2 separate regions of the Homo sapiens genome follow, and region 1 is linked to region 2. Evidence: promoter capture Hi-C in 16 types of primary human blood cells and fetal thymus (Javierre and others, 2016). All regions are on one chromosome and are shown on one strand. The core of a region is centred on a gene start or on the middle of the fragment in contact, and the rest is flanking DNA. Distances in the headings are between cores, read along the strand shown. Region 1 holds the start of RFXAP (regulatory factor X associated protein). Region 2 overlaps LOC107984619 (a long non-coding RNA gene).

The links. The method cuts DNA at HindIII sites, captures the fragments that hold promoters and counts their contacts. A CHiCAGO score of 5 or more calls a contact.
Region 1: the fragment with the promoter of RFXAP here is called in contact with a fragment that was not itself captured in region 2 in 1 of 17 cell types (total CD4 T cells); the score reaches 6.9 in total CD4 T cells.

The regions. Positions count from the first base shown.
Region 1 is chr13:36,815,236-36,822,447 of GRCh38, reverse strand. It overlaps RFXAP (regulatory factor X associated protein), which reads right to left and starts at 3,226. Exons shown (of 3, transcript NM_000538.4): 1 at 2,491-3,226. The coding sequence starts at 3,090. It overlaps LOC124903158 (a long non-coding RNA gene), which reads left to right and starts at 3,377. Exons shown (of 2, transcript XR_007063760.1): 1 at 3,377-4,281; 2 at 6,307-6,777. RefSeq lists silencers at 148-362, 2,939-3,308 and enhancers at 2,419-2,648, 2,659-2,708. The HindIII fragment of the contact is 8,641 bases long and covers 1-6,968 here.
Region 2 is chr13:44,910,708-44,917,454 of GRCh38, reverse strand. All of the region lies in intron 1 of LOC107984619 (a long non-coding RNA gene), which reads left to right. Among named protein-coding and RNA genes, the nearest start is that of TRE-TTC2-1, 3.9 kb to the left of the region's middle. The HindIII fragment of the contact is 1,285 bases long and covers 1,662-2,946 here.

The DNA of each region.
Region 1 (7,212 bases), core at 1,977-4,476, 8.1 Mb after region 2:
GTAGTTTAAAAAAAAAAAAGTAAGCAGCCATAGGTTAACTACTTCTTTCTTGAAAATAAGTATTATTAGGCCGGCGTGGTGGGTCTCACCCGTAATCCCAGCACTTCAGGAGGCTGAGGTGGGAGGATCAGGAGTTCGAGACCAGACTGGCCAACATGGCAAAACCGCGTCTCTACTAAAAATACAAAAATTAGCCGGGCGTGGTGGTGCATGCCTGTAATCCCAGCTACTCAGGAGGCTGAGGCACAAGAACTGCTTGAACCCAGGAGGTGGAGGTTGTAGTGGGCCGAGATCGCACCACTGCACTCCAGCCTGAGCGACACAGAGTAAGACTCTGTCTCAAAAAAAAAAAAGAAAGAAAAAAAGTATTATTTTTCTCCCTCTCTAAAGAATTCTGAAGTGAATGGGCACCTGTGGAACATACTGAGGAAGAAACTTGATCACCTTTACTAACTTTCATTCTTTTCCAGATGCTTATTTCCCTAAATCCCCGTAATCAGAGATTTGGTAAAACATACTATAAGAATATGGATTGAGGGGGTTTTTAAACTAAGATTACAGAAGTCCTGAGCCCATTAATTAGTATGCAAAATTAAAGTTACATAGTGGATTTTTCTAGGAAGAGTCTTCATTAAGTCACCAGACCCTCAAAGAAGTCCTCTTACTCCAAAAGAGTAAAACTTAAGGGAAAGAGAAGTCACTCAGTCCTAACCAGTGTGAATTAAGTATGACACACTGGCAACTGCAAATTTTAGAAATATTTAGAATATTATACTTTTTGTTTTTGAGACAAAGTCTTGCTCTGTCACCCAGGCTGGAGTGAAGTAGCACAACCATGGCTCACTGCAGCCTCAATCTCCTGGGCTCAATGATCCTTCCACCTCAGCCTCCCGAGTAGCTAGGACCACAGGCATGTGCCAACATACCTGGCTAATTTTTAAAATTTTTTTGTTGAGATGGGGTCTCCCTATGTTACCCAGGCTGGTCTCAAACTTCCGGGCTCAAGCGATCCTCCCTCCTAGGCCTCCCCAAGTTCTGGGCTTACAGGTATTAGCCACTGAGCCTGGCCTAGAACATTACATTTGTAAACAATTACAAGGTCTAATATTTTAGTGATGGAGCACTTCAAGTTCAGCCTGAAACTAAGAAATTTAAAGACTTAGAATACATCCTAGGACCCTAAGACAGCTTGCAGTTAAAAAAAATTTTTTTTTTTTTTTTTTTTTTTTTTTTAAGGAGACAGGGTCTTGCTATGTCATCCAGGCTGGAATGCAGTGATGCAAACAAGGCTCACGGCAGCCTCGAACCCCTGGTCTCAAGCAATCTTCCCACTTCACCCTCCCAAGTACAGCTGGGTATACAGGCACTTGCCACCATACCTGGCTTGGATCACTTGTAACAAAATTAAATTTTTCTCTACACTAAGGGATTATATAGCTCTCACAAGAAGAAATATCTGCTTATTTGTGACAGCCTCAAAGTATACCACTAACAATGACAATAATAATGGGTAAGGTTTGCAAACTTTAGCCAGTTGCTGGACACTGTGTGAACCCTCAATATGGAATGGCTCACATATTCACAGCAACACTATGAATGACACACGATTTTAATGCCCATTTTACAGAGTTTAATAACCTATTCAAGCCACAAGGCCAGTAAATGATGCAACAGGGATTTGCACCCAGAAGTCGAACTCCAGAACACTGGTTTTACCTTTGACTCAGTTCAAATCAAACAATCCAAAAGTTTTTTGAGACTTATACCCCATTATCATCCTTTTTTTCCCCCCTCAGGGGTACTAAGAAAAGGGGTAGTGAGAACAGGGTACTAACAACAAGGATACTGAGAACAAAGTATATTAAGTATTGGGGTAGTGAGAACATGAGAACAAGGGACTAAACATAGGGGTACTGGGAACAGAGTTGTAAGAAAAGAGTACTACGTACAGGGGTACTACAGACAGGCAACTGAGTATAGCAGTACTAAAAATACGGTACTAGGAAGAGGGTTAACAGAACAGGACACTAAAAACAAAGTACTAAATACAGGAGTATTACAAATAGAGGTACTGAGAACTGGGTACTGAGAACTGGATACTGAGAATAGAGTAGTGAAAACAGAAAGAGATGACTTTCTCAGAAGTACCAACTTCATCTAGGTTCCTAAGTCTCCTTTAGCGATGAACCAGACCGATCATTTACTCTATGTCCTTCCAGCCATATCCCAGATCTATGACAGCTCTGCCGATGTCACATTATTTTTACTGAAATTTCTGCACCTATCATGAGTTCAACAGAACTGTTATTGCTTTGCACATGTTGGTATAAACTTTAATTTAGGGCAAACACTCTAATTCTCAACCACTAACCCAGTCACTGCAAACCGGCCCATTTGGAAGTGGGGAGGCAGGCCCTGCAGATGCGGTTTGCGTTAAGATCGGGTTTCTTCTTCCACCTCCCATCCCCAGGCCTCAGCTAAGTCTGATACCTCGAGTTTGACGTTTCCCGCGCTGCCAGTCGAGGCAGTCCCACCGCAGTTCAGGGCCTGGTCGCTCTTCTTCTTTTTATACTTGTCCTTGTACATCTTGTTGCGGTGTTTCTTGCACATCCACGGTTTGCGCTGCTTGGCCACCTGGCTCGTGGTCTCGCTGCAGCCTTCGTAGGTGCAGGTCTTGCTCATGCTGCCCCCACCGCTGCCCCGCCTCCGGGCGCCCCCGCTGCTGCCCTCGCCCCCCGAGTGAGTCTCCTCGTCCTCTAGATCCTCCAAACTAGCCGCGCTCTCGCCTCCCCCCGGAGGGTCCGAAGTGTCTAACAGGTCCGCCTCGTCCTCCCCAGCCTCCTCTTCGCCATCCCCGGCCCCTTCGCACAGGTACCTAACGGGCTTGCCCGCCCCAACGCTGCCCCCGGGGGCCGCAGCCTCGTCCTGCCCAGCACAGGGTTGCATCACTAGCAGGGTGAATTGAGAGGCCGCGGCCGCCACCGAGGCTGGCGCCAAGGTGGGAGCCGCAGCCGGGGCTAGGGCCGCGGGGTGGGGCACGCCGCTGGCGGCGCCCGGCCCCGCGCCCTCCGCTACACCCTGCGCCTCCATGCTGCTAAGACCTGGCCGGGGTCCACGACCCCGGGCTTTTAGCACCTGCTTGGCCTAACGGCACTTCGCGAACCAAAGACTCAGGACACGCTGGGGTAAAAGGCGCCTATACCGGGAAGGCGCCCCGACTGCGCCTGCGCGACCGCAGCCTGCGCGTCAGCGTGTGTACGCCCGCGGGCTGTCAGGGAGCGCGGCGCCTCTGGGGGCGGGGCTGAGCGCACAACCAACGGGACTGACTGCGCATGTGCGGCCGCGGCCCCTTCGGCCAGCTGGGGGATTCGTAGACAGGGTCTGGGGGCTGTGTCAGGTGAAAACCTGCAGTGGCTGGCAAGGCAGCGCCGTTTTACCTGATCCTATTGTATCTAAAGCGGTTCAAAGTATCTTCTACAGGAGTTCCAGTATGCAAATTAGGATTGTTCCTGAGCGGTCTCACGACTTGTAGTGTTAGGATGCTAATTTTATTATTTCCCCCACAAACTGCCTGCAAGGGGAGATTTGAAGCTGGGATGCAGTGGTGTCACAGCCTAGAGTCACTAGCTCGCAGTCCATGAAGGCAGAGGTGGCTTATTTGAAAATAGTGGAGCGGAGAGGGATGGGCCACACCTTTGGCCGAGTTGTATTTGCATTGAGGGATAACTTTGTTTTTTTTCTCCTGGAAACTCACTTGATTGTTAGTACTTGCTCTTTGCTGTGGCTGCTGAGATAAGTCTTAACGTTTTCGTTTAACACAGTGAAAATGTGTGAAAAGGAATACTGAATGGCAAACGTTTAAAAAAACAATGAATGTTCTACCAGTTCTATCAGTTGCTGGGCAATTGCTGGTTGTTAAATCTTGGCTTGCCCAAATCCCAGGAGAGAAAATATCCTGCCGTATCCTGAACTGTTAAGTAGATGTTCTTTTTCCCTTCATCCTATTCTTTCGCCTAGTCAGATTTCCCATCCCACCTACCGGAAAGCAATGACTTTATTCAACAAACTATAAATCCATTCACACTAAGATGTTTGGGTGCTGACATATAGGTAGATCAGTTATGTTTTAAAGAGAGGCATATGGAAGGGAGAAGGTTTGGAATTAGAGCAACCTAGGTAGTACTTCCTGTGTGACTACAGCAAGTTCGTGACAGCCTCTCCGAGCCTCAGTTTCCTCATCAGTAAAGCCTGCAGTCGGTGGTGTGCTAGCGCCAACTGATGGTAACTGGTTGCTAAAATTTCAGGAATATAATTAGCAGAAAAATTAAACACTGCTATTATTAAAAGTCTTACTACATAAACTTACAATAAGATTATATTAAAAACAAAGGGTACAAATCTCAAAACTCTTCATTTTCTAATTATTTTATTATGTTTTATCATTATCTGTGCTTTTAAGGTTATTTATGTCTATTGTATCTGTATGCGGAAATATTATTTAGTGGTGTGTTACTGCACATTTTCCCAACTCTGCCTTCAGTATGTCATGTTGATTGCTTGAAATCAGCCACTTTTGGAGTATTTACACCAGGGAAATGATCAAATGCTACGAAGCAGGTTTACACTTATTGCTGATTGTCTCTGCACTTAAGAAAGTGACAGTGAAAATGTTAATGAAGATTAAATTTAAGGCCAGGCTCAGTGGCTCCCACCTGTAATCCCAGCGCTTTGGGAGGCTCAGGCAGGTGGATCACGAGGTCACGAGTTCGAGACCAGCCTGACCAACATGATGAAACCCCGTCTCTACTAAAAATACAAAAATCAGCCAGGTGTGGTGGTCCACACCTATAATCCCAGCTACTCAGGAGGCTGAGGCATGAGAATCGCTCGAACCCAGGAGGAAGAGATTGCAGTAAGCCAAGACTGTGCCACTGCACTCCAGCCTGGGCAACAGAGTGAGACTCCATCAAAAAAGAAAAAAAGAAAAAGAAAAAGATTAAACTGAAAATGTATTCTATCTGCAGCTCTCACATTGTGAATATCCAACCCCCCCAACTGAGAAAATATTCTTTCAGTATTTGAAAACTATCATGCAATTCAGCAAAGAAACTGCTTACATCACATCATTGAACAAGTGAAGACCTTATATACATCTTCATTGTTTCACTTTTGTTTTTTCTCAATATAAACAAAAATGTCTATCAACATTCATGTCAAAACTTTATGTCCTTGCCATCATCAAAAAAAAGAAAAAGAACAAAAAGTACACTTTACTTCTTTACTGAATTGGACAGAAACCAAGCATTTATTCCTTTTTTTAAATGAAAAAATATAACTTTATTCATAAATAATGTTACTTTTTTTCTTCGACTTTTATTTTAAGCTCAGGGATACATGTGCAGGATGTGCAGGTTTGGTAGATAGATAAACACGTGCCATAGTAGTTCACTGCACAGATCATCCCATCACCTAGGTATTAAGCCCAGCATTCATCAGCTATTCTTCCTGATGCTCTCCCTCCCCCACACCCACCTTTAACAGGCCCCAGTGTGTGTTGTTCCCCATTGTGTCCATGTGTTTTTATCGTTCAGCTCTCACTTATCAGTGAGAAGATGTGGCGTTTGGTTTTCTGTTTCTGTGTTAGTTTGCTGAGGTTAATGGCTTCCAACTCCATCCATGTCGCTGTGAAGGACATGGTATCATTCCTTTTTGTGGCTGCATAGTATTTCATGGTGTATATGTATCATATTTTCTTTATTTAGTCTACCATTGATGGGCATTTAGGTTGCTTCCATGTCTTTGCTATTGTGAATAGTCAAGCATTTATTCTTTTTTTTTTTTTTTTTGGAGACAGAGTTTCACTCTTGTTGCCCAGGCTGGAATGCAGTGACATGGTCTTGGCTGACTGCAACCTCTGCCTCCTGGGTTCAAGTGATTCTCCTGCCTCAGCCTCCTGAGTAGCTGGGATTACAGGCACCCGCCACCACGCCCGGCTAATTTTTGAATTTTTAGTAGAGACGGGGTTTCACCGTGTTGGCCAGGCTGGTCTCGAACTCCTGACCTCAAGCGATCTGCCCACTTCAGCCTCCCAAAGTGCTGGGATTACAGGCGTGAGCCACCTCGTCTGGCTGCATTTATTCTTATTTTGAATTTGGGACACTGTTGTTGGTGAATTCATAAAAACTGATAGTGATTTTCATAAGAAGTCAAGTCACCTTGAAGTTATGGATGTATAGAATTTACAGTATTGAGTATTGTATATTTTATCAATGTTTGTGAATCACGTGCTAATATTCTTTATCTCAGGTAGTGACACACCCAGAACCCCAGAATTGGCATAAAGATTATTTTAAGCTGAAGACACTTGAGATTCAATTGATACAGAAAGAAGCCTTCTCAGAGCTTCCTTTATCTGACTAGAAGCTGAAACTTCTGATAAATGAAGACCATCATAAATTCCCTCTTGAGGAAAGCTACTACCAGGAGAGAGACCAAGAGTAAATCTACCATAAATACCCCATGACCATGAGTTCAGAAAACCTACATAAACATATATTATCACAAAATGCCTTATTGCTCATTTGTTCTCCTAAAACCACATTTGTTTTTCCTAAAGGAACCTATTTGTTCATCCCATAGGAACATTTACTCCGTCTTCCCTTTCCTTACTAATTTAGGTATATAAGCCTCAAATTCTAACCATCCATTTCAGTAACTCATCTCTGAGCCCTCCTATGTACATGTAGTTCTTGTAAATAAACCCTTTTCTTTTACTAATCTATCTTTTGTGAGTTTAATTTACAAGCTCCCAGGCAAGAAACCTAAGCAGGTGGGAGAAAAGTTTTGTTTCATTTCCAGCCATCAGTTAACTGGTTAAAAATTTTTTTTACCAGCATATTACTCGGAGCAGTATTATTTAAATCTTAGTACAAATACCTGTTATGGTGTTCAATAAGTGGCAGTAAGCTTAAAAAATAAACCTACTTTTTTTTGAGGTATGATTTTGCTGCGGTTTGAACATGTCCCTCAAAAGTTAATGTGTTGGAAACAATTGCCATTGTTAACAGTATTAGTAAGTGGGGCCTTTAAGAGGTGGTTAGCCCTCATGAATGGATTAATGCCGTTATGGCTTAGTTATCACAGGAGTGGGCTCCTGATAAACAGATAAATTCAGTGTCATATACTCTGTCTATGCTTGCTTCTGCCCTCTGC
Region 2 (6,747 bases), core at 1,055-3,554:
GTTACCTAAAGTCATTCTAGGACAACAAGATTTCTAGAAAATACATATATTAAAGGCAGGGTAGTTCAATGTACAATTTGTTGTGTTTGTGATGCAGAGAGTTAACTAAACCAGTTTGGAAGGCGGGGAAGAAAATTAGGTTATAACAAATACTGAGGCTCCAGCCGATGGCAAAACAAAACAAAACAAAACGAAACCAAAACATTTTACTCTTGATATATTTATTTGACACATTGTTTTAAAAAAACTTTAAGAATTTGTGATATGCTAGATTAGAATTAGAAGTCTTAGTATTGACTTGTGACAGTTTCCAATTGTTATGCAAATAAATGCATCCCTTTGTTATTAGATGAGATTATCTAAAATGAAGACTATATTTAAAGACTAAAATAAAGACTATAATTTTTTTTGTTTGTTTTTTGAGACGGAGTCTAGTTATGTCGCACGGGCTGCAGTGCAGTGGCGCGATCTCGGCTCACTGCAAGCTCCGCCTCCCGGGTTCACGCCATTCTCCTGCCTCAGCCTCCCGAGTAGCTGGGACTACAGGCGCCCGCCACCACGCCCGGCTCATTTCTTGTATTTTTTAGTAGAGACGGGGTTTCACCGTGTTAGCCAGGATGGTCTCGATCTCCTGACCTCGTGATCCCCCTGCCTTGGCCTCCCAAAGTGCTGGGATTACAGGCATGATCTCGCTCTTGTCCCCCAGGCTGGAGTGCAATGGCACGATCTCGGCTCACTGCAACCTCTGCCTCCCGGATTCCGGCGAGTCTGCTGCCTCAGCCTCCCGAGTAGCTGGGGTTACAGGGGCCCACCACCATGCCCAGCTAATCTTGTATTTTTAATAGAGATGGGGTTTCCCCATGTTGGTCAGGCTGGTCTAGAACTCCTGACCTCAGGTGATCCACCCACCTCGGCTTCCCAAAGTGCTGGGATTACAGGCGTGAGCCACCGCACCGGGCCTATTTTTATTTTTTGATTATTATTTTAGATTATTTTACTCTCAGATGATATTATTATCCCTGTATCAATCGCGGCCCTGTAGGAAACTCGTGATATATTCTTAGCAGAGTGCTTAATCAAGGATTATTTAAGTTTTTCTTAGGGTTTAGGGAAACAAGAAGGGGTAATGCAGCTCTCACAGCTCCTGAGCCTAAGGGGCAAGGCCAGGGAGGATAGCTGATGCCGGGGGCTGCCAGGCAGAAGCTGTGTAGTTTTTGTTTGTTTTAAACTTGTTTTTAGGCCAGGGGCAGTGGCTCATGGCTATAATCCCAACACTTTGTGAGGCCGAGGTGGGAGTATCACTCGAGCAGGAATTGGAGACCAAGACCAGCCTGCACAGCGTAAGGAGACACCGTCTCAAAAATAAAAAAATAAAAAAAAAAAAAAAATTTGCCAGGCAGTGGTGCGTGCCTGTAGTCCTAGCTGCTCAAGAGGCTGAGGTGGGAGGATCGCTTGAGGCCAGGAGTTCGAGGCTGCAGTGAGCTATGATTGCTGCTGCACTCCATTCTGGGCTAGTGAGATCCTGTCTCCAAAAAGCAAGACAAAACTGCTTTCAGATGGCAGGTGAATTCCATTTATATGAAGGCTGTCATGTCTACTCATCCTATTAATCATTCATTTTCATAAAATAGAGTTTTGACCTCATGGATTTGACAGAAGCTTTCTTGAGATGGCTGTAATATTTGGTGGACTCAGAGCATAGTAGATATTTCTGAAGACAGGTACTTAATGATATGAAAGGGTTTCACTTTGTGGGGAGATGGTTACTTCAGTTATATTTGGCATTTTTATGGCTTTCCCTTTTTGTAAAACATTTTGCCATAACTTCCATTCATCATCCTCATAGTCTTTAGATTCATAGACTATTTGAGCTGGAAAGGCCCTTAGCAGTCGTTTAACTTAGACCCTCGTTTTACCCGGGAAACATCTATTCTGAGATTTTATTTCTCTGATTCCCTAGTATTGGACTTTAGATTGTATCCACAAAAGATTGAATTCCTGTCTGGTGCTCTAGCCAGACACCACTCTCTCCAAATCCTGGCGTCAAGGAGCGGGGCTTAGGGGGATTGAGTGCAGAGAAGATTCAATTATTTTTATTTATTTATTTATTTATTTATTTATTTATTTATTTATTTATTTTGAGATAAGGTCTCCCTCTGTCACCCAGACTGGAGTGCAGTGGCGCGATCTCAGCTCACTGCAATTTCTGACTCCTGGGTTGGAACGATTCTCGGGTCTCAGCCTCCTGACTAGCTGGGATTTTAGGTGTGCGCCACCGCACCCAGCTAAGTTTTATGTTTTTAGTAGAGATGGGATTTCACCATGTTGGCCAGGCTGATCTTGAATTCCTGACCCCAAGTGATCCGCCTGCCTCAGCCTCCCAAAGTGCTGAGATTACAGGCGTGAGCCACCGTGCCTGGCCAAAAAAATATTCTCTTGTATTTTTGGTCAGTGTTCACAGCATAGCTGCATAAACATAGTAGTAATTTTTCTACGTGAAGTTTTTTTTTAAAAAAATTCATCATATATAATCATTTCTAGAAAGTGATGAGCTTAACCTGTTTGGGGTATTTGAACTAACCATGTGTTCCTGTATGCTTTCATTTTTGCATATAGTCATAAACTCTGATGGATTCCACATGAAAATTGCTTTGTGCCCCTCAACAAGTGTATTTATAGTCATGCAGATTCATATGTATGTTCCCTCAGAGTATATCTGATGCCGCATGCAAAAATATCCTAAATAATTACATTAACACTTCATATATTAATATGAAAGCAAATATGAATTTTAACTCACCCACACTGTAAAGCTGAATAACTTGGAAAAACACTGACTACTTGGAAAATCACTGGAACAAATAATCAAAAAATCAATTTGCAAACTTCTAGAAGACCACAGGGCACTGGGTAATCATCCCACATTACTTTGTGAAAAACAAAGCTTATCAGATGAATCTAATTTCCTTTTGTCGCAGAGTGACAGCCATGGTAGATGGGGGAGCAATCAACATAATCTATCCTGATTTAAGAAAGCTTGGGATTTTGCAACTTGTTGTGTACTCATTAAGAAAATGTAGGTATGGCCGGCATGGTGGCTCATGTCTGTAATCCTAGCACTCTGGGAGGCCGAGGTGGGTGGATAGCTTGAGCTCAAGAGTTCCAGGCCAGCTTGGGCAAAAAAGCGAGACACCCTCCCAACCCCGGCACCGTCTTCTACCCCTCCCCGCCGCCCGTCTCTACAAAAAACACAAATCGCTTCCTCCTGCCCCTCGTCTCTACAAAAAACACAAAAAAATAGCTGGTGGTGCACGCCTGTAGTCCCAGCTACTCAGGAGGCTGAGATGGGAGAATGGCTTCAGCCTGGAAGGTAGAGGTTGTAGTGAGCCGAAATCGCACCACTGCACTCCAGCCTGGGAGACAGAGCCAGACTCTGTTTCAAAAAAAAAAAAAAAAAAAAAAAAAAAAGAAAGAAAGAAAGAAAGAAAATGTAGGTAAGACTATTCCTGTTTCATAGGGATACAGTCAAACTGAAGTTGGGGGCTCAGCTTTATGCAAATAGGCAACTTCAACACAGTATGTGCAAAAGTGACCTCTTTCTCCTTCCCAAGTCCTTTTCTACTTGGATTACTTATTTTTTAGTGTCATCCAAGATCTCCTTGTTTGAGTTACTTAATCTCTCTGTTCCTCAGTTTTCTAGAATCTAACGTGGGGATAAGAATGGGACCTACTTCATAGGGTTGTGAAGATTAAATGACATAATGCGCATAAAAGGCTTAGCCCAGTTTAAGGCCATCACCGTCATCATCATCACCATCATCATCATTGTCATCATTGGCATGTTTAGTCCCTCTTTCTCCTCCACTCGCACCACGTCTAATTAAAGCTTATTTTATTTTACTATTTATTTATTTTATTATTTTATTAAATCTTATTTCTACCTCTTCAGTTATGCTCACATATATTCTTATCTACTTCCCTGGCCACTCTGCTGGTTTAAATCATCTTGTTCTCTGGACTATTGCAATAGGCACCACACTGGTTTCCCTGACCCCATCTTGCCCATCTTCTCTATCTTGCATTCTCCTGGCTGTTACAGCGCAGAGCTGAACATGCTGCTTCCCTGCCCTAAACCCGAAGAGCTTTGTCTTGCTGAGTGCTCCCAATCTGCCTTTGCAGCCTAATTCCTACCTCTTCCCTCCATGTATCCTAGATTCCTGTTAATTTCACACTGTTTCCTGTATCTGGCCTTTACTCAATTTTTCTTCTACTTGAGACGCTCTTATGCCCTTTCTCTAAATATCTACATCTTATCCATCCTTTAAGGCTCAATTCGAACATCACATGGTTCCTATAGCTTCCCTTACCTCTCCTGTGGATGCTGGTTGCTTCTGATTCCCATGGCATCTTGTGTACTTCTCTTCCTATACTTACTCCTTTCTAAAGTTAGGTCCTAGCTTAGATGTCATTTCTGCCCTGACTGTGGGTGAGATGCTTTCTCTGCACATTTCCCTCTCATTGCATTTACCACACTTGTTGTGGCCCTGCTAGATTTTACTCTCCAAGGCCAGTGCCGTGCACACAGTAAACACTTAATAAGCATGTGTTGAAGGATGTGTGAGCAGGACAAGGACTTTATTGATTGGAATACCTTAAGTTTCAAGTTACAGAAAGCCATTGGAACTCCACTAGGGGAGGATTGTTGGCTAATGTAACCAAACTGTGTGAAGTAGAATGGGATGGCTGGCCTTGGGGACAATCAGAATCAGTGTTTTCTCTCTGTGTGTCAGATTTATTCTTAGCTATCATGGACCAACTGCTTCCACATGGCAAGGGATCTGGGCACTCTGGCTCAGTACTCATTCCTCCCAGCTTCCCCACCCGAGAAGGAAGGTCTTTCTTAGTTTCTGTTGGAAAGTGCTGGGGGAATGTGACCTCGCCTAGGCCCTGGGCCCTGCCTAGGGTTGATGAATATGGGGTATTATGATTGGCAGCTCCTATTAGAACCACAAGGTAGAGAGGAAGGATGAACTGGTATTAAAGTTAAGCCAGAGAAATTAAAATAGTGGTAGTTTAACATAAAGAGTGGTGATTTACCATATTTACAAGGTTGCACAACTTTGTAAACATACTAAAAAGCCCTGAATTGTAAAAGACTGAATTGTATGGAATCTGAATTATATCTCAATTAAGAAAAAATTAAGCCAGAGATGAAATCTTGCTGGCAAAAATAAGCATTTCTATATTCTTTATATTTGGGCTATTCATGTATTCAGCAAACATTTACAGTGTGTCTAGTATGTGCTGGCAGTTATCTAGATTTACACTGTAGTGGGAAATAGCACACGCACAAACACACAAAAAGGGTAAGAGGGTTGGATTTCATTCTAAATGTGATGGGAAAGCTCTGGAGGTTTAGGGGTGGAGAGAGGTCCACCCCCTGGATGAGGACCTTCTGGACTCTAGGGCCTTCTGGCTGGTGCTCTGCTGTGGTCAGCACAAACCACACCTTGGAAGGAAGATGAGACTGTTTTAAGAGGTCTCTTGAGATGGATTCCAGAACCCTCATTTTCAGAATTTGGCAATTTTGTCCTAAAATAAAGTTTTCCTTGTGGACTAACCCAGATCACAGTATGCTTTGCTTTAAGGCTATTTGCCCAGATTTAGCAAATCTGCAATATTTGAGGGCACAGTTTCAAGACTGCCCTCACTTCTAACACCAACTGCAAGTTTGGGGGAGTTTCCAATACCACCCTCAGGTTTGATGATGTTCTAGAAAGATTCCAATAACTCAGTGGAAGCTGCAATATTCACAGTTATGGTTTACTGCAGGGAAAAGACAGAGACTGAAATCAGCCAAAGGAAGGGACAGAGTCTGGGAGGGTTCTAACTGCAAAACTTCTGTTGCCCTCTTTCCATGTGGAGTGTGTGGGCCCTCCTGATACTAATGTGTGACAAGATACATGCAGTATTGACAACCAGGGAAGCTCACCTGAACTTTGTTATCCAGAGTTTTTATTGGGGCTTCATTATGTACGCATGATTGATTGATTGTCTGTGTGATTGAACTCAGCCTCCAGCTTGAGTGATACCATGTGACACAAAGCCCCCACTCTAAGGCACATGGTTGGTCTTTCTAGCACGACTACCTCCCACCCTAAGACTACTGAGTATGGCCAGCCCCACCCTACAATCTGAAGGGATCAGCCCCTGCCTTAAACAAAGATCCTCCTATGAGAAATGACATAGATTTCATCCCAGAAGATGAAGGCAAAGGCCAGACCTCTCTTTGGGCAAAGCCAAATTCTTTTTTTTCTTTGTTTGTTTTTTGAGATGGAATCTCGCTCTGTCACCCAGGCGAGAGTGCAGTGGCGTGATCTTGGCTCACTGCAACCTCCACCTCCTGGGTTCAAGTGATTCTCCTGCCTCAGCCTCCTGAGTAGCTAGGATTACAAGCATGCACCACCACACCTGGCTAATTTTTGTATTTTTTAGTAGAGATGAGGCTTCACCATGTTGGCTAGGCTGGTTTTGAACTCCTGATCTTAGATGATCTGCCTGTCTCAGCCTCTCAAAGTGCTGGGACTATAAGTGTATGCCACGACACCTGGCCTACCACTCATTATTTCTTCCAGTTTTCTTTTCAGTAGAGATGAAGGAAGAAGGATTGTCTATTGCCACAAACTGTTTGCCAAAAGATAGGTAAGTGTTCAGAGCAGCAGCTCAGGGGAAACCTGGAACATGCTG